Regions from separate parts of the Homo sapiens genome. Here region 1 is linked to region 2. The links are contacts of gene promoters, found by promoter capture Hi-C in human tissues and cell types (Jung and others, 2019). All regions are on one chromosome and are shown on one strand. Each heading gives the region's core, a stretch centred on a gene start or on the middle of the fragment in contact. The rest is flanking DNA. Distances are from core to core; before and after follow the strand shown.

Region 1 (5,910 bases), core at 2,155-4,654, 45 kb before region 2:
TGTGTAAACAAATAATAAAATAAAAAAGAGTTTAAAGTTCTCTTAGGACTCCTGAGGGAGAGGACAAGGCACAATAGAAGTGCTAGAGAGCCACCTGTGCTTATAGTCACACACTCTTCCCAAGCAGGTGCCAAGCCTACTGGCACACACAGATGACAAGTAAGACAGATGTTTGTGGAATAAGCAACACACGCATGCCTGTCTTGGGTTCTGTTGAGGCAATGACATTAAAAGCTTAAAGTAGTATTTCTTAATGGCAGTACTACTTTCCTAATGATTGGAAAATTGAGTGGTAGGCTGAGTTTACCCAGTGTCAAGAGGGCCCAAGTGTATTCCAAAATGCATTCCAGGCTGGGCGCAGTGGCTTATGCCTGTAATCCCAGCACTTTGGGAGGCCGAGGTGGGTGGATCACTTGAGGCCCGGAGTTAGAGACCAGCCTGGCCAACATGGCGAAACCCCATCTCTATTTAAAAAAAGAAAAAAAAATTAGCCGGGCATGGTGGCACGTGCCTGTAATCCCAGCTACTCGGGAGGCTGAGGTAGGAGAATTGCTTGAACCCAGGAGGCGGAGGTTGCAGTGAGCTGAGATCATGTCACTGCACTCTGGCCTGGGCAACTCTGTCTCAAAAAAAAAAAAAAAAGTATTCCAGAGAATATCTTAAGAACAAAAAGTGTTCTGAGATTAAATACATTTGGGAAACATTGGTTTTTACAAAGATAAAGTAGATTTTTCTATTGCAGGATTACTTATTATATATTTATTGTTTTAATATCAATAAATATTGTTACTCCACAAAAGTGAGTACCTGGTAAACGTCATCTTTCAAACCTGACTCTGGAAAATTTTCATTCAGTTTCCCAGGAACTAGTGTTCTGTGAAACACTCATCAGGAAATGCTAAACTGGAGACTGTTAAGATAATGAGTATCTCAAACTGTGGCTGAGTAAGATTTCTTAGGGTTTCTTTTTTTTAAGAGACAGACTCTCATTATGTTGTCCAGGCTGGATTCGAACTCCTGGGCTCAAGCAGTTCTCCCCTGTCGACCTCCCACATAGCTTGGACTACAAGCACATGCCATCGTGCCTGGCCAGTTTCTTAGGAATTTTTAAATTCAATATAGATAGAGTAGGCTGAAAGAGCAGTGGTAATCAGATGCACCAAAAAAGAGAAAAATGAAAAACTTAGAAAGTTTAGAATAATCTTTAATCTATCTCTCTTGAGTAAGATCTAAATGTGATTCGCTTCTTATAGTAGCTATGATCATTAGCCAAAGCAAGCCACCCAATGAGGCGTGTTATTATTTGTATTGGCCTAATAATTCACAATGGTAGATTTGAAGTGTGTGCTTTGAATATTTAGGTGATACTCTCAAAAGTGGGTCAATTTTAAGAAATGTTGACAGCAGAATCACTCCTTATCCTTGCACTTTTCACAGGGAAGTGAGCCTCTTGAACCCTCATACATAGTGGGGCATGTGGCCTCAGCCCCCAAAGAACAAAACCTGATTACTTTATTCAATGACGGGGAGCACAGTCAGGTATGCTTTCCATGGTGTCCAAGGTGACAGCAAATCCCCAGTCTACTTTGTCATTTCAAAACTAGCCTAAGTCGAAATTGATAGGGAAAAACTCCACTTGATCCTGAAACTGCTTTCTAAGCATCTTTGTGATCTTAGCTCTGGGGCCTGACTTTGTCTTCTTTGTCTCTTCCTTTTTCTAGTCTTTTTATGGATCATGGGGGGAAATTACAGATTGACTGTTTATTATAATCCTCCCTATTTTAAATCACAGGGTCTTAAAAATGATTTTGTTCGGAATATTCTATGGACATTTGAAGATATCCATATGTTGGTCGGCTCCAACATGCCCATATTTGGAGGAGGCAGATACCCAGCAGTCAGCTTACGTCTCAGGTGAACTAACATCATACCCCTCCTCAAGCTTATGGTATTTAAATTCTTCCTTTAGAATCAGTGTTCCATCAGACTGAGGTTGCAGTGAGCCAAGATCATGCTACCGCACTCCAGCCTAGGCGAAAGAGCAAGACTCGTCTCAAAAAAGAATCAGTGTTCCATCTATTTGGGCATCTTCCTCTTTCTCTAGGTTTTTTCCCCTCCCTCCTTCCCCTGCCAGTTGAAATGGCCACATTAAGGAAGGAGCTACTGTCAGCAGATGCTGAAAGGCAGGCCTATAGCTGAGTCTTCATTCTAGACCTCATTGAATAGAGCCAGAGGTTTGTTGGACTGGCCTAGTCTTAGGTCTGAATCTACAACTTGTGAGAATATTCAAGAGAGTTTATTTAATTAGTTAGATTCCTACTAACTACTTGTGAGCATTTTTCTTAATGCTCCACGTGTATTTGTTGATATTAGCCAATGTGAATTCCAACTTAAGCATGGTCTTGTATGGTGTTCAGTCTTTCTTCAAGTTGTGTGTGAGGAGCAGGCAGTAGGCTCACCGTCCTTTCCTATTATATTGTCTTCTATTCTTACTGAAAACTTACCAATGTCAGTTAGAAATACAAGCAAGCTTTTGGAAAGATGTTAAATATAGCACAACCACTGAGCTGCATGTGCATATCTTATCAGAAAAGAAAGCATAGATGGCATTTTCTATCTAGAGAGGACAGCTTAAGATACTTAAATGGTGAAATAACTTTCAGATGATTAATTAAGGAACATCTTAATTAAACCAAATAACACTAGAAATGTATATTTTTAGGGATAACAACAAACCAATTAATGTGCTAACTGGAATTGACTATTGGTTGGACAACTTGATATGCAATGTGCCAGAGCTTGTGATGTGTTTTCATGTAAATGGAATTGTACAGGTAAGATACAGTGTGATTTTTCTGATCTCTCAAATGCAAATTGGTACAGAGAGTTCCTCACCAAAGTCTTTACGGCCCTGAAGTACTAAGGTGCATTTTTGCCAGGGAAGATAGCTGTGAATAAACTGAATTTGAGTGTACATTTAAGTTGGTGATAACAGAATTGTAGATGTTATAGAAGTATAATTTTACAGGTAATTTGGAGGAAGTTCATAAATATATGAAAACCTGCATTTGTAGCCATAGAACTCTAATTTTAATGCCAAGCTCTCATTAATAATTAACTGAAAGTGTCTACACAATGGAGGCGTTTCTTCGTTATGCAAATATCTACTCAGTACATGCAAAGTTTTAGGGAAAGGTCTTGTAAAAATTGCATATGGTGGATAGCTTATATAGCAAATTCTTATTGAGCATATTCTGTTTAGAAGACACGTATCCCCATTATAAGTGTTGGGGGAAGCTAGGCGTGTTGGCTTATTCCTGTAATCCCAAGCTACTCAGGAGACTGAGGCAGCAGGATCACTTGAAGCCGAGAGTTCAAGACCAACCTGGGCAACGTAGTGAGACCCTAATTGTAGAAAAACAACGCACACACTTAGTTGGGCATGGTGGTACATGTCTGTAGTCCCAGCTACTTGGGGGCTTGAAGCAGGAGGATCACTTGAGCCCAGGAGTTTGAGGCTGCAGTGAGCTATGATCGTGCCACTGCACTCCAGTATGAGTGACAGAGCAAGACCCTGTCTCAAAAAAATAAAAAAATTGAGAATTTAAACAATAAATAATTGTTGAAGGAAAACAAAGAATAAGCTTGGTTGTTATTCAGAAAGAGATAATCTAATGGGAAATAATATGCAGAGAGAACAGTAGGAGACAGATAAGAATTAGAAGTGTAGCACACAGAAATCTAGATCATCAGAGAAGGGGGTGAGCACTTCCATTCAGGTCTGGAGGAAAGACTTTGTGGAAGAAGGGACATCTTAACTGAGTCCTGAATGATAGCTAGTATCTCAAAAAATAAGAGCTGGATTTTAAAAGTCTAGTGTAAATACATGAAAGGATTGATAATAAATCCAGCTAGGGAACACAGGATTTATGTAGCAGAATAGCTGCAAGTAAGGTTGGAAAAGTCATGGTCAAATGATGGAGATCTTAAATGTTGAGCTAAGGAGTATGGACTTGGTTCAGTTGGTAATCTGGAATCAGAAGGCTTTGCATCTAGGAGGGGAAATTTGTTGTGTTAGAATATTAATTTAGAGATAGCATATAGGACAGAAAAGGAGGACTTAGAGACAAGAAAACCAGAGGCATTGTACCATTTTGCAGATAGTGTAATGTACTTTCCACTAGAGAGGAACTATTAAGAATCAACAATGGTAAGAATAGATAGCATTTATTGAGTGCTTATTTTATCCAAGCACTTTGCTGAATGCTTTAAATGCTTTACCTTATTTGATCTTCTTAGCTACCTCACATGCTGTTATTCCTATTTGATGGAAAGAGAGACTGAGGATCAAGGAGCTCAAGTGAGTTGCCCAGGGTCAACTTAGTAGTGAGTGGCGGTGCCAGTCTTTGTGCCTCTCTCTGGCTGAGGACATGCTTTGAACCGTTATATTCCAACCCAGTGATTCTTAACCTGGTTGTGCATCAGAATCACTTGTGGTCTCTGAAAAAATGCACTTGCTTGGGCCCCCAGTGTTCTAGTATCAGTAGGATGTGTACTTCTGTCTTTTCTGAAAGTCTGCTGTATGATTCTGGTTTGCAGTCTTGATTGAAAACCACTGTTAGACCATCTCCCTAAATGGCAACATTTAGTGAGAGGCTGGGGTGGGAGTGGGGAGCAAGAGAAAAGAGAGAGGCAGATAAAGCGTTAGCAAGGCGGAGGGGAACAGGAGTCAAAGGAGATTCCAGGGTTTAGGGACTAGAATAATGGTGGTGCCATTTAGTGAGATAAGGATGTTGAATTGGTTTAGACAGGGAAGGTAATATGTTTTTGTCACATGTTCAGTTTGAGGAAAGTATAAAAATGTCTAGTGAGCATTTTGAAGTTGCAGCCATTAGAGAAATAAATTGAAGCATCATCTGCCTAGATACTGTCAGATTTCATCACCAGAGGAATCTATTAAAATCAGACATTGGAGCCTCTCCTCATAGGGGTAAAAATAGAAGGGCATTTAGAGAGAGAGAAGGAGAACAAGAATAGCACAGATTAAAATACAGGAAAGGAGCATTTTAAGGAAGGAAATAATCAACATTGGGGACTTCACATGAACAAAGTGGGGTGAAAATCAACCTCAGACGATTGTGTTTGGTCTTACATTCCAGTTGATTTGAAGTTTCCAGTTTTAGAGTACTTCAGAAAATGTGGTAGGAGATGGTTAGGAGAGTGTGCACAGAAGATAAACAAGAAAAATGCAAAGGCACTTTTAAAATAGTGGTAGTAATGTCCATGAAGCCTTTACTCTTATTGCCACCTCCATTCCCCCCTGCTCCATCCCTGTGAAGTAATAAAGTCCATAGATGAAGGGAAGAGAGGTGTCTACTGGAAAATTTCCTAAATGATTCTCTCTCCTTGAGTCACTGACTGTAGTTTCTAGCAAAAAAAAAGGCCAGAAATACATGTGTTTTAAAATCTTGCTGGGTAAAGCCTACCTTCATTTACCATCTTCCCAGTTGAAAACCATTCAAGTGGAATAAAAGTAGTCAGTATGATTTGTTCCATGTTAGAACAGAAATAAGATCATGCCTGAATCTGAGGTTCTAAATCTGGTAGTGATTCTCCATTGAAATTACTCCAATAGTGAACTGCCCTTGCTGATGGGGTGGATGAGATTCCTTTGGGAGGCTGGGGCAGAAAAAAGATTAAAAACCACTGGTTTAAACACTTTCATGCTACATAGGTCTCTGTTTGCAGGACTTCTGCATTTGGTTGCTTTTTAAAAAGAAAGGTGTTGTTTCCTTGGGTTTTCTCTTAAACTGCTTTCCATCTGTCTGTATTTTACAGAAATATGAAATGATAAAGACAGAAGAAATTCCCAATTTGGAAAATTCTAATTTTTCTACTAAAGTCATAAAA
Region 2 (5,152 bases), core at 1,802-4,301:
GTTGGTCCCGGTGAAGGATGAGTGCCCCCCATACAGACTCCTCACCTAGGGGGTCCCCAGCCTCCAGGAGCCGGCAGCAGAGGTAGACAGAGTGGCAGCTCCTGGATTAAGTCCTCAATGTGCGGAGGGTGGGAGACGGTTTGTTTGTAAACTGTGTTTACAGTCCACAGACTGTCAGAGACCAGCAGGCACCAAGTGCCTGGGAGCAGAGGGGAGCGGGGCTGGGTGAGAGCCCGGCTGGGGGCCTGGGAAGATGGCAAAAAGGCCTCACCCGGACAAGATCGGGGCCGGATCCTCGCCTCTGCGGAGGTCGTGAAATATTGAAAGCTGGGTCCCTTAAAATTTGTCTTTTTCAGCCAACCGTGTCCCTATACTTCTCACCCTGGGACATTAACCCAGTGAGACCAGAAGACAGCCCTGAGCACCCCCGGGTCACAGATGGGGCTGCAAAGCGGCTTGTCTGCTTGCTGCTTGTCTCTGACCACTTCCATGCCCTCACCCACTCTCCATTCTGGGTGCCTTTTTGTGGGTATCCCAGATCCCACCCATCCTTGAGTCTAGGCCAAGACCGGATTCCTGGGGACGCCAGCACCCAATTTCAGGTGGCAGTGATCCTCTTCTGCTTGGTCTGCCCCTTAAAAACACTTCTGTTGCTAGACGTCCAAGGTATTTTGTCCCGCATTTGTCCAATTGTAAGACGGAGGTGGTGGCAACTTGTGCCTGACCCTGCCCTGTCCTGAGACCCCAGCTGCTGCTCCCTAGGGAAGCTGGAGGCACAGGCAGGGGGCCCGAGTGGGACTTTGAGGAGCAGCCCGGGCAGCAGCCTGTGCCCAGGGCCGGCCCTAGTGTCCCAGTAGGCCACACCAGGCTATCTGCAGGGTGACCATGATTCCGACAAGACGACGCTGACCGGTGGCTTCTGCCTGCCCCGCTGACAGGTGCCCCCGGGACAGGCCGGGAGGGCTTAGCCCCCCATTCTGCAGGTGGCCGAGGTGGGGGTAGGTGCGCCGGGGTCCCCGAGGGGCTGGGTCGGGCAGGCAGGGAGCCCGGGGTGCTCTTACCTCTCCCAAAGCCCAGCTTGATGTCGACCGCGGCCCCGGGGGCGGCCAGGTCCTCGCGGAAGTCCAGCGGCGTCACCTCGCTCCACATCCTGAAGGCCAGCGCCACAATGCGCCGCTGGTCGGCCACGGACAGTTGGCTGCTCAGGGCCTCGCCCAGCAGCCGCCAGCTCAGCGTCCTCTTGGAGAAGGCCTGGGCAGCTCCGCCGTCGGGGTAGCCCCGGGGCTGCCAACCCCGCCGGGACAAGGACAGCGGCGCCCGCGGGGAGCGCCTGGAGCGGGCTCTGGGGGGCGGGCCCGGGGGCGAAGGCGGGGCGGAGGGGGGCGGTGGGCGCATGTCCGGGACCCCGCAGCGCGGCCGGTTCATGGCCGCTAGGGTGGCCGCGTCCAGCTCCCCGCTGGCCGGCAGCGCGTTCGCCCGCTGGAACCTGCGCACCGCCTCGGCCAGGGCGGCGCCCTTGGGGGTCTCCGGCGGCCCCTCGGGACTGGGCCCCCAGGCCGCCCACACCCCTGACCAGCCGTATCTGGACAGGAACCGCTGTGGGAGAGAAAGGCACCCTAATCTGGGCCGCCTCGCTCGGGGCCCTCCCGGGCTGCCCTGCCCCAAAGTCTAGAGAGACAGAGACATGGGGATAGAGACAGAGACAGAGAGAAGCAGAGAGACAGACAGGGAGAAACAGATGGAGATAGCAATAGAAACAGGAAGACAGAGAGAGATAGAGATACAGAGAGAGCGGCAGTGAGAGACAGAGACAGGAGAGAGGTAGACAGGAGAGAAGGAGCGAGTCCTGGGCGCCTTCCTGAGTGCGGGCCCTGGATGGGCACCAGGCTGAGTCAGAGGCGCCCTAGGGCCGGAGGAGCAGGAGACCTGGGCAGCGGGGTGGGCGAGTGCCGGGAGGAGGTAAGAGGTCGCGGGGGAGGAAGACGCTCCCCCCGGCCTTGCGGGGCAGGTCGCGCAGGGCAGGTCGTGCGGGGCAGGTGGGGGGTGCCAAGGAAGTCCGGGCGTGGCCACACCGCAGAGAAAGCCATGGGAGGCACGTCCTGAGAGCTGGGAATTGGAACTGAGGGGCTTGGCAGTGGTTGGGTCTGAGGACCTGGGGGGCTTCCTCATGGCCGCACAGCGGGAGGGAGGTCAGCGGCCTCCACGCGGCTGCGGGCCTGGCCACAGGGCGGCTCTCCTGCTCCCTGCCCTGGCCTCTGGGGCACTGTGGGAGCTGGGGATTGGACTTGACCCTGAGCATCAGCTCCTGGCCTATGGTGACCAAAGGACCACGTGCCAGAGCAGGTGAAGGGGCCTCATGGGTCCACTCCCTGCCCGCCACCACGACTCTCTGGAGGAGGGGATCGCCTGCATTGGACCTCCTGGGTGCTTCACCACAGACTCCGGTGAAGTCCACGGATGCCACCCCAGACAGCTGTTAGGATCCTTACTATTGCGGTGTTGGGGAACCTTGCAGGGCTGTCCCCTTCTCTACATCCAGAGATTGGCATGGTGAGCAGCCACAGAATGCCTTCGGACAGTGCCTTGGCCACTACAGTATCACATGCTTGCCTTTGGAAAGGCACTTGGCATTTGAGTCTGTTGTCTGCGCACTGACATTTCTTTCTCACTAGGGCTGACCTGTGGGATTGTCGAATCAGGTTAAGCATCGATTCATGGTTGTTCCAATAGGAGCCACAGGAGCCACTCCTCCCTCTCAGCCCAGCCTGCCTGGCCCTTCTCTGCCTCTGCACAGCCGGCATCCTGGCCTGTGCCTGTGCGCGCGTGCGCATGTGCCTGTGTGCACGTGCACGGGCCTGGGGGTATTGCTGTTCTTCCAGCTTCCTCCTACCTGAGCAGCGTGGAGGTCGGCAATGGGCTTGGCCTGGCGCAGTGGGGACGGCTCCAGGTCCGAGCGGTCCCGGCTGTGGAAGAGACTCTCGGGCTGGGTGGGCCAGGGAGCAGCCAGCCAGCAGAGCAGCAGTGTCGGACGGAAGATGGAGGCGGCGAGCATTGGCCTGGTCTGAACCCTTGCCCTCCCTGCCTGGCTTCTTCCCCGTCCCCGTCACCTCTCCTTAAGGAGCAGGACCTAGGGTGGCTTTTATAAGCTACGCAGGAGGGAGCACCCAGGTTTCCAAGCATTTCTCACCCAGCCCTGAAGTGTGCCCGCTAGGAGGCCACGTGGCAGGCCCTGGGCGTGCTGCCTTTGAAGACCCCAGGCTCACCTTTCTTGTTGGTGTGAGAACTCCTTCTCTCAGCCTCCAGAGTTTGCCATGTCCTCCGATAATTACATCCTCCAGTTGCCAGTGCCTGTGGGTTCCATTTCTATGGAGATATACTGCGGGCAAGTTTGCCGCTAAATGAGCTGTGGAATTAACAGAGGCACGAGACTGCGCCCCTAACAACATGCCTCTCAGAGCTGAGCCTGAGTTTAAAAACCCTGACCGTTAGTTTGCTTACAGTTTGGGTCACTTTTTTTTTCTTGGTGAACTGGGGTTTGGAGATTTTTAGTTTGTTTCTCACACATTTTTTGTGTGGCTTTTCTTCTTTTTGTTTATCTTTATATAAAGGAGATCTTCTGAGCAGATAGTATAAATTGTAAAAGTACTGAGAATGAAGGAGACATTCTGTGATTCCGGTGGTGACATTTCAGTGAACATTCTTGCAGATACATATGCACAGATGCCTAGAGAAGTATTTGTGTGTGTCTCTCATTTTACATGAACTCTATTCTCTGTTCTTACAAGCCAGCACAACGTTACAGGCACTTTTCTGTTTCTGAATGTAAGTATTTATCGTTCTAGTTAATGACTGCACAGCGTCCCATTCTGTGGGTAAAGATTTTTATAGAAGGATAAACTAGAATCACCTCAGCCCACTACTTTTTCCCCTCATGGAGAAGCCTCAAGTTTCTTTGGGATCCTGAAGACAGAGCCCCTGAACTGGGCTTTTATCTGAGCAGATGTCCTCCTGAGAGTGCAGACTGACTGGGTCACAGCCGTCCATGGGAATATTGAGAATCATAGAAATACGGAGAGGCCAGGTGCAGTGGCTCAGACCCATAATCCCAGCGTTGCGGGAGGCTGAGGCAGGAGGACTGAGGCCAGGAGTTTGAGACAAGCAAGGGCAACAAAATGAGACCTCATTTCTATCAAAAAATGTTTAAAAATTAGCTTGGCATCGGCCGGGCGTGGTGGCTCACACCTATAATCCCAACACTTTAGGAAACCAAGGTGGGTGGATTGCTTGAATCCAGGAGTTCAAGACCAGCAAGAGTTCAAGACCAGCCTGGGCAACATGATGAAACCCCATCTCTACTAAAAATACAAAAATTAGCCAGGTGTAGTGGCATGCGTGCCAATAGTTCCAGCTACTTAGGGGAGCTGAGGCTGGAGGATCACTTGTGTCCAGGAGGTTAAGACTGAAATGAGCCGAGATCACGTCACTGCACAACAACTTGGATGACAGAATGAGACCCTGTTTCAAAAGGAAAAAAAAAGTGGATAGAGTGATGTGTGCCACTTGCAGGCCTGAACTCTAAGACCACCCTCCTATTCTCTGTGATTTCTCTTCCCTCAACTCCTGACCAGACGCAGAGCCTCCAGCAGAAGTGGCTTGGATCCCTGAATCCCCCTGTGGAAGGCCACCCTCAAACCCTTGACTGCTCTGTGACAGGAGCAAGAAACACAACTGTATTGCGTGGAGCCTAAGATTTGGGGTTGGTGGGTGCAGCAGTTAGACAACCCTAATACAGGCCACTAAATGCTTAGTCTGTCCCCAGAAGGACCTGTAACATGCTCCTCATTCCCTAACACCTGTCTCCAGTAGAGACTACAGCTTGCCCTTTCCTCCCTGGTGAAGGCTGCACAGGTCAAAGAGCAGGATGGGTTTTCCTGTCCCTGATGGCTGCCTCCACTCAGGGAAGTGCCCTGCTCCTGTGAGCCTCATGACAGTTTTCTGGGTCACTTCCAGCCTTCCTAGTAGCTGTCCTCTCCCCAAGACGCATTCGCCCCTTTTCTTGCAGGGTTCTCCTGTATTCCATGTCCTTCCATTGTCCTGGACCCTGGCATCCCTGTGAATGACTGGTGCATTGCTCTGACCTCCCTCTCCGTGA

What was found. Contacts are between HindIII fragments. The study calls those that stand out against the background at their distance.
Region 1: a fragment that was not itself captured here is called in contact with the fragment with the promoter of MMP21 in region 2 in 2 of the 25 tissues and cell types used here (mesendoderm cells and pancreas).

What each region holds. Positions count from the first base shown.
Region 1 is chr10:125,727,566-125,733,475 of GRCh38, forward strand. EDRF1 (erythroid differentiation regulatory factor 1) reads left to right here. Exons shown (of 25, transcript NM_001202438.2): 7 at 1,438-1,539; 8 at 1,793-1,914; 9 at 2,723-2,834; 10 at 5,839-5,910. Among named protein-coding and RNA genes, the nearest start is that of EDRF1, 11 kb to the left of the region's middle. The HindIII fragment of the contact is 4,632 bases long and covers 1,089-5,720 here.
Region 2 is chr10:125,772,770-125,777,921 of GRCh38, forward strand. It overlaps MMP21 (matrix metallopeptidase 21), which reads right to left and starts at 3,052. Exons shown (of 7, transcript NM_147191.1): 1 at 2,891-3,052; 2 at 1,062-1,596. The coding sequence starts at 3,052. The HindIII fragment of the contact is 11,499 bases long and covers 1-5,152 here.